Linked DNA regions of Homo sapiens: region 1 is linked to region 2. The links are contacts of gene promoters, found by promoter capture Hi-C in human tissues and cell types (Jung and others, 2019). All regions are on one chromosome and are shown on one strand. Each heading gives the region's core, a stretch centred on a gene start or on the middle of the fragment in contact. The rest is flanking DNA. Distances are from core to core; before and after follow the strand shown. Region 1 overlaps TDRKH (tudor and KH domain containing). Region 2 holds the start of VPS72 (vacuolar protein sorting 72 homolog).

The links. The method cuts DNA at HindIII sites, captures the fragments that hold promoters and counts their contacts. A contact is called where the count stands out against the background at its distance.
Region 1: a fragment that was not itself captured here is called in contact with the fragment with the promoter of VPS72 in region 2 in 1 of the 25 tissues and cell types used here (liver).

Annotation. Positions count from the first base shown.
Region 1 is chr1:151,774,718-151,777,417 of GRCh38, forward strand. TDRKH (tudor and KH domain containing) reads right to left here. Exons shown (of 13, transcript NM_001083965.2): 7 at 1,722-1,882; 8 at 1,379-1,551; 9 at 1,103-1,167; 10 at 675-826; 11 at 348-449; 12 at 1-89. Among named protein-coding and RNA genes, the nearest start is that of OAZ3, 9.4 kb to the left of the region's middle. The HindIII fragment of the contact is 4,030 bases long and covers 1-2,700 here.
Region 2 is chr1:151,188,880-151,191,579 of GRCh38, forward strand. It overlaps VPS72 (vacuolar protein sorting 72 homolog), which reads right to left and starts at 1,318. Exons shown (of 6, transcript NM_005997.3): 1 at 1,126-1,318. The coding sequence starts at 1,242. RefSeq lists enhancers at 1,293-1,362, 1,403-1,462. The HindIII fragment of the contact is 20,238 bases long and covers 1-2,700 here.

The DNA.
Region 1 (2,700 bases), core at 96-2,595, 590 kb after region 2:
CTGAGGCAGGACAGGGTATGTGTTATCTCTCCAGAGCTCTTTTTGGTCTCAGTGAGCAACGTGCTGAGAGAGGCATCTGTTTCTGTGGCCTGAGTGGATGAAAACAGGAAAAAAGGAGGAACATGTTGGCTTTTAGGAAAAAAGAGGCCACCCTTTCATTCTTCTCATAGGACCTGGTTAAGGCAGTTGCATTTGGCTACCAAGAGGGACAAAATGCTCCTTTGGTCAACTACTGGAGGAGCTCAAAGTCCTTAGGAAAGCTAACACAGTATCAGGACTAGAAGCCCTTAGTGTCTATGTGCTAGATTTGCCTGGAAGCAGCACCCTATATAACTACAATAGCTCACCATGTCCTTCAACATGTCTGGGACAGCTCTGTTTTCTTCTATGTCTTCAGGAAGCTCAATTGCGTATCCTTTGTGTACTAATTCTAGCCCAATATCAAGTTTCTGAGAAGAAAAATGAAAAGGGAATGATGTTCTCTCAGTAAGCAAGGGCAAATTTGAGGAAACAAGGCAGAAGGACTGATACTTTAAAGACATTCCTTTGGTGAGATGGTGAGAAGGATCTTACAGTAAGAGTAATATCAGATAAGGGTTTCTGAGGAAGAAAAAGTAAATTAGGCTATAAATATACTGAAGATATGGCAAGCAGTGAGTGAATGCCAGTCTTACCTTCCCATTGCTAGTATCATATAAGTAGATCTTTGGCCAAGTTGAGATCCCAGTCTGGACATAGCTAGAGATCTTGGCTACCAGAGGCTTCCAGTCAGCACAATGAGTGAGTCTATCAAACTCATCCAAAGCTTCCTCTTCCCACTGGTCACCTGGCAAAAGATTGTAGGGGTTACTGCTGATAGGGGTGGGGCTTATACCCTGGAGGGAAGTTGGAACTACCCTTTTCTACTCAGGAAGGCACCTGTGTCTTCTCTGGTTGGGTTGGGTCTGCCAGGCAAGTTTCTGGCTGCTGCTAGTGCTGGTGAGGAAAAGGCACCTGAGTCCCCAGAATTCAAAAAGCCTGGGAATGTGAGAATTCCTTCCAATGAACTGTATGAAGTTATTCTATTTGGAGGTAAGCTCAATAGATGGCATGACCAATTTACCTGAGGGAGCAATCCGTGCCAGACTACATTCTATTGCTTGAAATGGAAGGCTTAGGAAGTCACTCCTGAAGTAAAAGAAACTAAAATTAGAATCCTGGGGCCAAAAACATCTTCTTACATTGCTGCTTTCAGAAAGAACCAACTAACATGAGACGATAACCATCTGCTCTCTGTAAACAGGTTCCCTTCCAAATCCCCCTGACAACTGCCAACAGCTCACCACCCTATGGCCAGAACTGAGTCAGCAGTTGGGATTGAGCTGACCTCAGCACTGACCTGAGAGCCCTGAGGTCCTTCAGTGGGCAATCTCCATTATCTCCAAAGTCAACAAAATAGAGGTCCAAGTTCCCATTCTCCAAGGTGCCGAGGACCCGGGCTCGATACCAGGAACCATTTGTAGGTAAAGGTGCTGCTACAATGTCTCCTACATGCACAGTCAAGTCTTCAGGCTGTATGTGGGGAGGAGGAGAAAGGCAGAGAGTTACAAAGTGGTAGGCTCATAAACAGAATTGCAGGAGGAAGAAAGAAAAGTAGTTGCTCCACAGGGAAAGGAAGAGTACAATGAAAAAGATATGCCTTCTTTTCATTAAACCCCAGCCCTGTCCCTATGGCAACTCACCACACTATTCTCATAGTGCTGGGTCATCTCATTGACAAGCTTATCCAATTGCAGGCTGCGGGAGCCAACGATCTGGATCCAGAAGTGGTTAGGGTGCTCAGAAGCAGAAACGTAGACTTCTAGGTACTCATCAGCATGAAAACTGAAGTCAGGACTGGGGACTGAACACAGAGATAAGGATGGTGGCCACATCAGACCCATCTCTGGTTGGAATGAAGAGACTAACCAGGGTAGTGAGAGGTACAAATACCAATGGCTGTTACCATTTTAAAATGGCAGGAGAGGCAACTGGATGAATCAAACAAGAATATCCTAAAGAAAGATACTAAGCTATCCTTTGTACCTTTCCATGTAACTGAGTAATAACAGCTTACATTCTTTGTCATGTGCTACATAGTCAAATCGGTCACCAATTATACAGAAGGTAAACCTCCATATGCTAGCTACAGCATGGATCAGTAAAAAGGTATATGGACAGCAATCTTTACATGGACAGTGACGGACATGGACCTGTTCCAGATCCCATTCTACCACTGACTCTTTACATGACCCTGGACAAGTCTGTGAGCTTCTTGGGAATCCAGGTCCTCTTTGCCCACGCCAAAACCTATGTACAGAAGAGAAAGCTCACAGCCTTTTCAATAGTGATGATTTTTAAAAACAGTAATGAAAAAGGCAATATAAAATCTGGCTGAGAATTTTACTTGTTGATAAAGTATGTCTAGGCTGGGCATGGTGGCTCATGCCTGTAATCCCAGCACTTTGGGAGGCCAAGGTGGGTGGATCATTTGAGGCCAGGAGTTCGAGTCCAGCCTGTCCAACATGGTGAAACCCCATCTCTACTAAAAAATACAAAAATCAGTCGGATGTGGTGGTGTGCACCTGTGGTCTCATCTACTCGGGAGGCTGAGGCATGAGAATCACTCGAACCTGGGAGGCGGAGGTTGCAGTGAGCCGAGAATGCACCATTGCACTCCAG
Region 2 (2,700 bases), core at 68-2,567:
GAGTGCAGTGGTACGATCTCGGCTCACTGCAACCTCCTCCTCCCAGGTTCAAGCGATTCTCTGCCTCAGCCTCCTGAGTAGCTGGGACTATAGGCGCACACCACCACGCTTGGCTAATTTTTGTATTTTAATAGAGACAGGGGGTTTTACCATGTTGGCCAGGATGGTCTCGATTTCCTGACCTTGTGATCCACCCGCCTCGGCCTTCCAAAGTGCTGGGATTACAGGCGTGAGCCACTGTGCCCGGCCAAAGCCACTGTGCTCGGCCTATCACACAGTATTTTAACTGTTAACCCAGGCAGTTACCCCACTGGGGCATGGAGTATGTAAGGACAGAGCACTGTTTTTAATATTCTGTTTCCCTAGAGCCTAAAACAACCTATTACCGATGGCATGCTCTGGGTACTCAACACATTTAATAAACGGGTAGATTCAACTAATAAAAATTTAGCAAGTGGCAGCCCAGTCCGGACACCTCACACATAATGTTGAACAAAACAGACCATCTCTAACTTTATACAGTTTACAATGCAATAGAAAAGCATAAGCAAGTAAGCAAACCAAATCTAATTGCAAATTGAAATATGTTCTGTGGAAGAAATAAATGGGGACACTTGTTAGGATAGTCAAGGAAGGGTTATCTTCCTGAGAAAACATTTACACTGAGACCTGAAAGCTGAAAAAGAAGTGGGCTAAGCTCCTCTACTTTTGGAGCGGTTCCTTTCCATGTCTCAGGTGAATAATCCAGCAGTGGGCCAACGAGTATACATCGAGCAACTGTCTACTACTATGTGTGTGCCTCGTGTATGCTGGACGTCAGAAGTACAGTGAAAGATGCAACCACGCAAGTATACGGTAGGTTTCTGCCGTTCTCTGTTCTCTGGAGTGCCTCCGGAGAGCTTCTCCGTCTCAGGCCCCTTTGACCCCATCCAGAGCTCTCCCTTCTAGGACTCCACACTATCCGTTCCCCCGCCTCGCCCCCCGGCTCCGATTCACCCACCCAACTCGAGTATCAGCTCCCAGAGCTCCTCTCTATTCCCCGCCCTCTTCTTCTTTGTCCGGGGTTTCTCCCTTCAGGGCTCCTCTTTGCCTCCTCCCCTCCCTTTTCCCAGGCCCGGATCTTGCCTCTGTGAAACCCCCATAAGTCGTCTGGTAGAACTCATCTTCCTCCTCTGCCTCCAAAAGCCCAGAAAGCCGGTTCCCAGCGGTCTTCCGGGGTGCCCGGCCCCCAGCCAAACTCATACCGCCTACCGAGACTGCGCCGCCACCTGCAGCCCCTCACCAGCTCGGTTTTGGGAGCTCGACGCTCGACATCACTACCTGCGGGTGGCCACCAGCGGCGGAAGTCGGGCGTTTACAGGCAGAAGTAACAGAGTGTCGAGAGACTCCCAGTCCCACCCTCTAAACCCTCTTTACTCTTCAGCCTCTCCTACTCCTGCGCGGATGCTCTAGGCCGCTTGCTCTAGTACCCAGCGATCTCCCTTGCTCAATGAGTCCACTTGGTGGTACGAAGACCCCCATAACCCTAAGTCAACACATTTTATTTTATTTATTTTTATTTTATATATATATATGGTTTTTTTTTTCCGTAGGGACGGAGTCTCGCCTCGCTCTGTCGCCAGACTGGAGTGCAGTGGCACGATCTCGGCTCACTGCAACCTCCGTCCCCCGGGCTGAAGCGATTCTCCTGCCTCAGTCCCCCGAGTAGCTGGGATTACAGGCGCCCGCCACCATGCCCAACTAATTTTTGTATTTTTAGTAGAGACAGCTTTCACCGTGTTGGCCAGGCTGGTCTCGAACTCCTGACCTCAGGTGATCCGCCCGCTTCGGCCTCCCAAAGTGCTGGGATTACAGGCATAAGCCTGCGCCCCCAGCTCACATTTTCTTTTAGAAGAGGTCATTCTCTCCGCTCCAGTCCATTTTCTACACTGCTGCTAGTAGGAAACTTTCTAAAAACCCACGTTTTGCCACTCCTGTCCTCAAACATTTTTAATGGCTCCACATCATCTACAAGATAAAGTCAAAAATCCTTGAGGAAGGAAGCATAGTATTGTGGTTAAAAACACAGCCATAGACATTTATCCAAAGGAAAGGACATAATTCAACCTGAGGAAGCCAATTTAGGAGGAAAAAAAAAAAGGAAATCAGTATATCCAAGAGACGTCTGCACTCCATATTTATGCACCCCCATATTTATTGCAGCACTACTTAGAGTAGCCAAAATAGGAAATCAATCTCTGTGTCCAACAACAGATGAATAAAGGAAATAGGGTGTATATACACAATGGAATACTTTTCAGCCATTAAAAAGAAGAAAATCCTGTCATTTGCAGCAACATGGATGGAACTGGAGGACATGTTAACTGACTTAAGCCACGAACAGAAAGTTAAAACACTGCATGTTCTCACTCATATGTGACGCTTTTAAAAAGTTGATTTCATAGAAGTGAAAGAACAGAGGATACTGGAGGCTGGGAAGAGCAGGGGGAAGGAAGGGACAGGGAAAGATTTGTTAAAAGACACAAAATTGTGGCTCACACCTGTAATCCCAGCACTTTGGGAGGCCGAAGGGGGTGGATCATGAGGTCAGGAGTTCACGACCAGCCTGGCCAAGATGGCGAAACCCCATCTCTACTAAAAATACAAAAATTAGCTGGTCGTGGTGGTGGGCGCCTGTTATCCCAGATACTCGAGAGGCTG